2 separate regions of the Homo sapiens genome follow, and region 2 is linked to region 1. The links are contacts of gene promoters, found by promoter capture Hi-C in blood cells and fetal thymus (Javierre and others, 2016). All regions are on one chromosome and are shown on one strand. The core of a region is centred on a gene start or on the middle of the fragment in contact, and the rest is flanking DNA. Distances in the headings are between cores, read along the strand shown.

What was found. Contacts are between HindIII fragments. The CHiCAGO score rates a contact against its expected background, and 5 or more counts as called.
Region 2: a contact is called between a fragment that was not itself captured here and the fragment with the promoter of ARID5B in region 1, in 3 of 17 cell types (total B cells, naive CD4 T cells and naive B cells). The highest score is 5.9, in total B cells.

What each region holds. Positions count from the first base shown.
Region 1 is chr10:61,899,153-61,903,948 of GRCh38, forward strand. ARID5B (AT-rich interaction domain 5B) reads left to right here and starts at 2,547. Exons shown (of 10, transcript NM_032199.3): 1 at 2,547-2,578; 2 at 3,007-3,261. The coding sequence starts at 2,558. RefSeq lists silencers at 1,069-1,238, 3,979-4,298 and an enhancer at 2,237-2,739. The HindIII fragment of the contact is 3,094 bases long and covers 238-3,331 here.
Region 2 is chr10:62,420,024-62,425,251 of GRCh38, forward strand. It overlaps a transcript of ZNF365 not described here. Among named protein-coding and RNA genes, the nearest start is that of ZNF365, 48 kb to the left of the region's middle. The HindIII fragment of the contact is 847 bases long and covers 3,325-4,171 here.

The DNA of each region.
Region 1 (4,796 bases), core at 1,297-3,796:
TGCTGTAAAGAGCTGTATAATTTTTTAAGAAAGAGATTTAATATACAATTGAGGGATACCCTCAGGCATTCTGTTGAGGTTTCCTGCATAAATGCTGCTGCATTGGTCATACAGGAAACTGACTCAGAGTCGATCTCAAATACGATCTTGTCAAAATACTGCAACTCAAGTTTTTTTAATATAGGATTTCTTGAACTGGATGTATATATTTACGCTAACACGACAGAGACTAACAGAAGCTTTAGGCATATCTATTTTTAAAAAAGACATGTAAAATGCCCCTCAGTCAAGTCCATTCATATGTTAAAAATGAACAAAATGGGCGATTCTAATCAAACGTCTGCAGTATGCATTATAAAGTTAAAAAGAGAGAGAGAAAGCGCAGGAGAGCTATAATTTCTCTTTGTAACCCATGTTTATAAAATAGAAAGATCAGATGAAATTTCAAGAGATAATTAAAGAGTGATGTGCAAGTCATAATTTGGCTAATGTTAAAGATGGGAGACTGCGAATTGTAGTCCTCCATGGTGCAGAGTTGTGATATTACTTTAAATTATTAAAATAGTTTTCGACAGCTTTCAGAATACCGGCTCTTTGGCATGGGCTTTTATTATTTATTGTAATTAGAGGATCTGCCATTTTCTTTCGTTTATCTCTGTGTGTATAGAAACGAGATAGATTTTGCCTTTTATTACTTCCCCATATTCTGAATCAAAAATGTGGTTTAGATAATGTTAAGTGCCCTAATTCTTACTGCAGCGGACGCAGACGTTATGAAAAGGCATAAAAATACACACAGAGGGTCTTTCCACCTCAAGTCACTGAATATGAGGCATTTGTGCTCTGCCGGGTGTATTAACTTCAGCCATGTGAATATAATTTTCATTAAAGTAATCCTGTTTCAACTAGATGCTGTGACTAGAGGTGAAACGTTGCGAAAGCGTTAAAAATAGCTTACTAGTAATTTCAACATCCTGTAATTTTATCACAGATCAAGTTTCAACTGTCATACTATACAGACCTTATTCCCCATATAGTACATGTTTACTTTTTTAGCATGCCAGACCCACTTTGGAAAGATTGGTGCCAATATAATAAAAGCTGGAGGGGGGGTGTGCTGGAAGGAGTGGGAGGAGAGCGGGGAAGGGGGTGGGGGAACGTGGGGGAAGCGAGTACACCATTTTAAATCAACACTGCGAAAATGCAATCTAGCCTGGCGGAGGACCGGCAGCTGGGTCGGAGCTTGCGAGGGCTTTGCAGTCTCTGCCTGTTCCTTGTTCTGTCGCTCTTAAGTTTCTCTGTGTTTGCATAATAGCCGTGCATGCAAACCTCGCAATGCTCCAGGGCTCCAGAACAATAAATATACACATTTAAAGCCTTTATTGTCTTACGGTTCATGCCCCCGGTTTTCAACAGCTTAATTTCTGGTTGTATTTAACTAGTTTGCAAATGGATTTTTTCAGTTTCAAACTATTATTGAGGAAGCTCCCCTCCCTTTTTTGGCGGGGGAGGGGATGGGGGTGGGGTAGGAGTCGGTATATTATTCCTGTAGCGCTGGGTTATATAAACACATTATCATTTGAGAGCGCCCTTGGCGTCCATCAGCATTGTAAACACGTACTAGTGTATATACTTCAAAATTAAAGAATGCACACGCAGAACCGGGAGCCTGAATTCATATTCTGAGCAGACTCGCTTCTCGCATTTATTGATTTATCATGCATCGTTTATTGTTCCAGTCCCTAAATGCAGTCGCTGTCCGTTCAATATTGTTTGCGAAATCCTAAGATGTGTGTGCACTGCTCACTTGTCTCTTTTTTTTTTGCTGAGTATTTTTTTGCGAAGCGAACAAATGCATTAATATTTATATGTTTATATAATCGATAACCCACTTTTCCCTTCCATGTAAATAGGCATCAAAAGATAATTTAACAGATTAGTTCTCGAAAACATGGCAGTGAGGAAGCGTAATTTAACTATCAAACAAATCTACATGTCTAATAACAGCAAATCTGCTAAGAAGCATTAGAAAGAGGAGCAGCGCCCCGGAATCTCTGCAGGAAATGTTCTTTATATTAGACATATACAAGCAGGTCCTGTCAGATGCACAGTGGAGCTCGCTACCCCTCCTCTCCTCCAAAAATCTCATCAGACGATATCCCAGACAGGAGCGGTTAGAGAGAGAGGAATCACATCTCCACACAGTTTTAGGGTGCTTTTTATTTTTACAAATCTTCTTGTGTGTTTTTTGCCTTGATCCATCCTCTTCCCGCCGAGATCGTATGGCGCCTTTCTCTCGATTATGAATTTGATCAATCCATCTTTGGAAGAAAACCCACATAGTTTTTTCAGGAGCTGAAAATTGAGTCGTTATAGAAATATTAGGACATATTTTCAATCATTTCGGTGCCCGAAGGGAGGCAAGAGCTCAGTTTTATATTGAGACATTACGCCGGCTGAAGGCAGAGAATGCGTTTCCCTGCCAGGACCTGATGCAATCCATTCAAGCCAACAAGTTTGGAGAGAATGTTGAGTTCAATCAATTCAGAACGTCGAGATGGAGCCCAACTCACTCCAGGTATTTCGCTCTCCTCCGCTCCTCCGATCCCGGCACCCCCCGGCACCCCCCAACCCCCCAGCTCACCCACACCTCTGCACCCACCCACACCCCCCACAAACTTTTCACCAAACTTTTACCCTCTGCATCCCCCAAAATCATTTTTATTGTTTAAAAAAATCCCTGCACTGATCATACATACATAATGTAATTTTACCGCCTCAAATGGGGAGGTGGGTAGAAGTGGCGGTGGGGGGCCCTGAGTTTTTTTTTTTTTTTTTTTAGGGAAGCAGAAAATTTGTGGGTGCTATTATTTTTCCACCCAGCGTTATATCTGTTGGGTCGTCTGTATTAAGAGAGTGGATGTCTGTGTGTAAATGTGTCTGGGAATAGATGTTTGTGCTCTGATGGCTACATTATTTATTTGGTGTTTTTTTCCCCCCCTGCAGTGGGTCGGCTCACCGTGTGGCTTGCACGGACCTTACATTTTCTACAAGGCTTTTCAATTCCACCTTGAAGGCAAACCAAGAATTTTGTCCCTTGGCGACTTTTTCTTTGTAAGATGTACGCCAAAGGATCCGATTTGCATAGCGGAGCTCCAGCTGTTGTGGGAAGAGAGGACCAGCCGGCAACTTTTATCCAGCTCTAAACTTTATTTCCTCCCAGAAGACACTCCCCAGGGCAGAAATAGCGACCATGGCGAGGTGGTAAACCTGTCTGTCCCCCTCTTCTTTCTTTATTATTTTTCCCCCTAGTAATGCTTATTACAGGGCAAGCTTGAAAATACTGTATTCACTTCTGCAGGCAAGCAGGATCGACTCCTTTTTTAAAGGGGTAGCGCCACTAGCTGGGGCTCGAGTATTTTGCCATTGTCAGAGTTTGGCTGTCAGCTTTACAAAGAGGATCCAACTGCTGATTTTAGTCAAGATCAAATAACTTGTTCGAGAAGGGTTTTGTTCAAGGATGTGTGTGTGTGTGTGTGTGTGTGTGTGTATGTGTGTGTGTGTGTTCATTTGCTCTCCTGCTATTGCCTCTTGAACATCACATGCTTTTTATATTTTTTGCCTTTTGAAAATTTACCTTCGTGTCTGGCTCGGTCGTGTCTGGGTGGATTTCTTTCGGTGGGTTTCGATATTGTTCTTTTTTCAAAGTAAGTATTTGATATGTTTAAGAGGGCGGAAATTACGAAATGGAGGCAGAATGAGATCAAAAGCTATTGAGTTGGCAAAGACGTGTTGAATAAAGTGATAAATGACAGGTACTGGAATAATACATTCAAATAACTTGCAGATCTGCCCGGGCGGATTTCAAAGCGGTGGTGTAACAGGCACAAACACGTTAAGCATTAACAACTATCTCTCGCCCACTCCCCCTCCCCCCGGACAAGCCATTTGATGTTCTAGTTTGCAATTACTCCACGCAAAGTGGACGTCCTCCTGCGCGATCTTTGGGGGTGTGTGGGACGGGGGCGGGGGAGGGGAGGGCAGAGGGGTGTGTGCTCGCCCACTGGCCCTGCGGGTCCAGCGTTCTCCGTGCCCAGACGGCGCTCCCGGGGAGGGCGGGGAGGGGACAGAGCCTCCCCGGCACGTTTCTGGGCGGCCGCGGGGGCGCTCGCCGCGCTCCCGGGAGGACGCCGGAGGTGAGCCCGCTGTCACTGGGCGCCGGGGCGGCCGCCTCCCTTCGGCTCTGTCATTTCATGTGTGACCGCAGTTCTGCGGGCTCCCCTCCTCAGCTGACCGACCTCAGCGCCGTGGTACCTACCGAGGGGAACTATTTTGGGGAGTCTGTGCCCACGGCGCAGCGGGGAGGGAGGGCGCACTGCCGCCTGGCGAGGCTTTGTGTTGCCAAAGCGAGAGCAGGGTAATCAAACAGACTTTTGAGGGCAGCTAGTGCTGTGCCAGGCTCTCGAGCTTTCGAGGTAGGTGTAAGGATCTAAGGATCTTTTTGTTAAATGAATGGTTTCCCGTTTAACTCATCCCGGGGCTCGGAGCTGCCAGTCCTTCCAGAATTCCTCGGTTTGATCGAGTTGATAGTACTTTTGGCATTGCTAGTTCACTCCCTCTCCCCAGGATCGAATTACTCGTCAGTGGTCTATGCCGGTTAATTACTGGAGTTCGTCGAAACGTTCGCCCTCGAATCTGCCTTTTCGGAAATAAGCCCCTCCCACCTCCCCGCTCACCTCCCCCCTCCACCCTCCCCGGCCAGCTTTGGTTTTTAAATGTTCATATTTCCCGACGTC
Region 2 (5,228 bases), core at 2,498-4,997, 520 kb after region 1:
TGTTTTATATTTCTCCTTTAAAATCTTAATGTATTAGGTTATGTTAATTTATTTTATAACATTAAATAAACCTGAGTTCTTGGAATAAATCATACTTAGTCATTACATATTACTTTTATATACATTATTGCATTTAGGTTGAAATTAATTGGCCTACAATTTTCCTTTTTTGTATTGACATTGTCTTATTTGGATATCAAAGTTAGACTAGAATTTACTATTTCTGAAGCAGTTTGTGCAAATTTGAAATTAACTCGTAATAAATATTTGTTAGAACATGCTTGTAAAAACATTTGGGACTTTGTTTTCTTTGAACCAGTGATTCAATTTTTTTGTTATTGTTCAGTTTGATGGAGCTTCCACCATCTTTGTAACACTGAGACTTAAGCTTAAATTTAAGTTTGTATTCTTGTAGGTAACTATGTCACAGAAAAAGACAAGAGAATTGCATGTAGGATTTTCTCTGTCTTAACTCAGAAATGATTCACATATTTTTTCACATTGTAATTGGCCCATATAACTGCAAAGAAGCTAAGAAATAAAGGAAAGTAAATAGAATACTTAGCAAGCTTTACTGTCTCTGGCAGCCTCTAAGTTCTTGGCCTGGACTACAGAAATAATACTTTGATTGATTGCAAGTTGGCAGTGAACTTGAAAATAAAGGGATGACCTGCCTTGATTTTCTGTCGTCTGGACATTCCACTGGTTTTGTATGCACCTAATGTCTTCTAGAATGGTTTCTGTTTTTCTTGTTTTCAGGCTTTTTTTTTTTATTGAGTCAGGCTCTGTCACTCTGTCACCTGGGCTGGAGTGCAGTGGCGCCATGCCAGCTCACTGCAACCTCCACCTCCCTGGCTCAAGTGATCCTCCCACCTCAGCCTCCTGAGTAGCTGAGACCAGAGGCACCTGTCACCACACCCGGCTAGTTTTTTATATTTTTGTAGAGATGGTTTTTTTTTTTTTTTAACTGAACACTGACTGATAAACCATTTTGTACCAGAAGAAGTCTGGAAAACAGACTTCAAAAGATAGAAATGTGGCCTACTTGGGTTTAGAGACATTGGCAACCGATAGTGGTAGCTCATTGCTTATACTGGAAAAATATGTATTTGTCTATTTTGATTTGATTGTTAATGTCTAAGTCATCAACAATCTTATTGTCATCACCAATTTTCTGAACTGAGCTAGTTCACAAATTGAACAGGTCTTGTGAATGTAGGAGAGTCTAGTCAACTTGATGAAAGATCGTACAACACTGGCACAATTATGTACTGCAAATCTGTTACCTGGCCTTTACCAAAAGAATCTGGGGCCATTTACAAGGGTGAATCCACAGTTGATAAAGTAAAATACCCAATCTTTTTAGGGATTACTTCTCATCAGCCTTGAGCTGATGCAAATTCCTCAGGACCATGAATCCTCTATACTCAGTTAAGCGGGTGGGCTTTAGAATTTGGGTGATAAAATGAAATGTTAACCCAAGTCCGTATCACGTAAAGCCAGGAACTCTGCAAAACCACAGTGTGCTAATCCCTGAAAGCATGGTTGAAATAGATTTAATTATGTACTGACAGCCTCCCGACATTGGCATACTCACTGTTGAAGTAAAGGCTTTAATGATAGAGATATGCAAGAAGTCCTTGGGATTTCTTTCTCCAAATAGTAAACAATAATTGATACTACATCCCTGAGGTAATTGAAAAGATCAGTGCCACCATCAAAATCTTGAAAGCTGCAGAGCTATTGATTTCTTTCAGGTCAGCATTAACTTATCTGTTTGCTCTATGCAGAATACAGATGAATCTGGAATAATGACAGCAGATTATTACAACTATAGTTGTTACAGATGTGAACTCCTTGCTGGATCTATAGCTGATACTCAGCTATTGATTTGGATAATGTTTTACCACTGTATTCTGAATAGCAAAAAAATATCAGAAGCAGCTTCCTCTTATCTGCAAGGTACTGCCATATATCTTCATTGTCTTAGTTCAGAGTTATGTTAGTATTCTGGTTTTCAGCAATAATCTAGTCCAGAGAAACCAAGTATTACCATTCTACAGGGCAGCATGTTGGTCCATTATATGGATGAGTCATGCTGAGTGGGCTGTGTGAGTAGGAAGGAACCAGTATTTTAGATGCCTTGATAACTGCATGCATGCCAGAGGTGGGAGAAACACCCCATGAAAATTCAAGGCATGTCATCTTGTTCATCTTGATGAAACTTCTAGGGTTGGGTAGACTGGGAAATGTGATATCTCATAAGAAAGAGAATATAAGTCGCTATGCCTTACACCCTCATCATTAAGGAGGCACAATATTTTGTGAACTTCTTTGGTTGTTAAAGGCAACATTCCCCACTTTTGAGTGTACTGCTCTGACTCATTTACCAGATGACAACCAGTAAATTTGCCAGTTTTGAATGGACCTAGACTAAAGGAGGCACTGCAGCTGGTCTGGACTGCTGTGAAAACCACTCCACTATTTAGACCTAATGACCAAGCAGACCCAATGATGCACAACATGTCTATGGCAGCTAGAGGTGCTGTACAAATGGAGCTGTGAGAAAACCCAGTAGGAGAAACAGTGCAGATACCTAGGGCTTTAGAGCGCGGCCATGCTCTATTCTGAAAATGATCATTTATTCAGTTTGGAAATAGTTCTTAATTCTCTACTGGGCCCTAGTAGAGACTGAATGCCATACCACCTAAGTAGCCCATCATGAGTTAGGTGTTATCTCATCCACCAAACCTTACAATTGGGTGTTCGTAGAGTACTCCATGATCACAAGAAAAGAAAACTGCATATGAGATGGAAATGAAGTTGATCTTGAAGACGAAACTAAGTTGTGTGAGTACCTGGCACAGACTCCCTTGGCACCTACTTTTGCTGTCTTGCCAACTTGTTCTCAACTCACACCTCTAGTCTCCTAAGAAATATCCCTGATGAGTTGTCTGAGGAAGGAAATATTTGGGCCTCTTTCATGGATGGTTTCACACAATGTGTTGGCACCAGCTAGGGGGAGACTTACTATAATGTTAAATGAATTTATAGTGGCAACTAACTTATATAATAGATACTCCATAAATGTTAGTCTTTCTTATCAATTTCCAAACTGTGTTCTGTAGCATGTCACTAAGTAAGATACTTGAAAAGAATTCCTGGTCTATACAACATTTTTAATAGAAACTTAAAAAAAAAACTCCAGGAGTTCTAAAGGAGTTAGTATAGTAAGATACATTTTGAATTTCAGCATTTCTCAAGCTTTAGGAGTTCTAAAGGAGTTGGTATACTAAGATACATTTTGAATTTCAGCATTTCTCAAGCTTATTTGACTCCAAGACTCCTACTTCATAGAGTATTTCACAGGATTAGTGCTTTTCAGAATCTACCTTGGGAATTTCAGCAATTCAGACTTGGACAGAATATTAGTTCTGATAACCAGGAATGATTTGGGTACATTCAATCATTCCAGTTTTTTCAGAATATTAGTTTTGATAGCCAGGAAGAAAAGTGTTAAATTTTTACACTAACTCTAGGATGTGACATGTGCTCATCTTGGCTATTCTAAATGACTAGAATTCTTAGTTCAAAAAGATATTTTAATAGAAAATCCTTGCTATGAGGGTAGCGTAGGTGACACTACCCAAAAGGAGCATGTAAATCAAATTTAATGATGATTTTTCCATTTTATAATAGGGATTAGGGTTACAAGGAGATCACAGCTCTCTGAATCCAATTAGGACTAATAAAATGCATGCTTTGAGCTTACAAATGAATTGATTTAGAGAGGAAATAATTATAATAATAAGCATGATATTTGGCACTATGATTACATATTAGGTTATTCAGATTATTAAAATCATTCTTATTTTCAAAACTGAATGTACATAGTTTTGCACAATGCAATGAAGTTTATGGAGTCTGAAGTATATTATACTTTCTTTTGAGACACTGATGGAAGGAAAGAATTGTAAACAAGATAAGGGCTCGAGGTTAGGATAAAGAAAAAAATTAGACCTTATTAGAGATAACTGTGTTATTAATGAACTTTTATAACAGACTATAGCAAATATTATCTGGGGAAAGAACAAAACATGATTGATCAGACCAAATTTCTGAGAACTCTATTAATTTGAGAAGCCTGTGAGTGAGTATGCTTATCCAATGAAGCTTAGTTTGATTTTGATCCCATTACTGCCCCCTTGCTATCAAATTTAACACTTAATGTTCTTTTTGTAAGTGATAGGAGATGAAGAGGTGGTAAGGTCCAAGAAAGTACACCTTTTTGCAGGCACCAGTACCATGTCCAGCTCTTCTCAACCAGGGTTTTAGGAGAGAATTGAAGCACGATGCTCTCAGGAATCTATTATAAGCAATGAATTAACTTCCCTCCTATGCATCTAAAGTGATACTAGCTATGTCTCATCCTTGGGATAATTGAGAAAATAGTCATTTGATAATTTTCTGTTGGCCTAGTTCTCTAGTGGAAACATTTTAAGCAGAGGCTATTTTGGACCACTGATCACAAAACACCTGTCAATGAGAGTTTTAAAAATTCTTGCATGCTGTCTTCACTGATTTGGATTCCATTGATCAGGAATGGGATTCAGCAGTATGTGTTATAAAAATCTCTCTAGATATTTCTGATATAACCAAAGTCTGGGAACGACCGCTCCAAATATAGAATACTGGTAGCCAAGATGCTTTATGAGACAAATGTTCCATGGCCTACAGTGCCCCAGTTGGGGACTTACAATGACATTGATGTATTAAAGAATCTCAATTGTCCTAGAGTTACTACACAGTTATCCCAGGTTTCTGAAACTTATTTCAAGATGGAAAACGTTTTTGCTGGATACCTGTAATTATCTTGTGGAACCAGAGTGCCACAGAAGCACTTTGGGAAATGAGGCTAGAGAATGGCTGTTGGCATCCGAGAATGCAGGCTTCAGCAGGGTCTTCTGCAGCCAATTTCCACACAACCTCCCTGCTCTGTCACCTTTAGAAACACATCCTTTTGGGTCTTAGAAGTTTTTCATTTCAAGAGTCCCTTGTTTTTCAAACAGTAAACTGACTTTGTTGATTACACCAAAATAAACTCCAGATGTATTAACATTTTAAATGTTACGTTTAAGTTCATAAAATTATAAGAAGAAAAAAATAAAGTTTTCTTCATTCATGGAGTGGAGATAACCTTCCTAGATAAGACACAGAGTCTAGAAGCC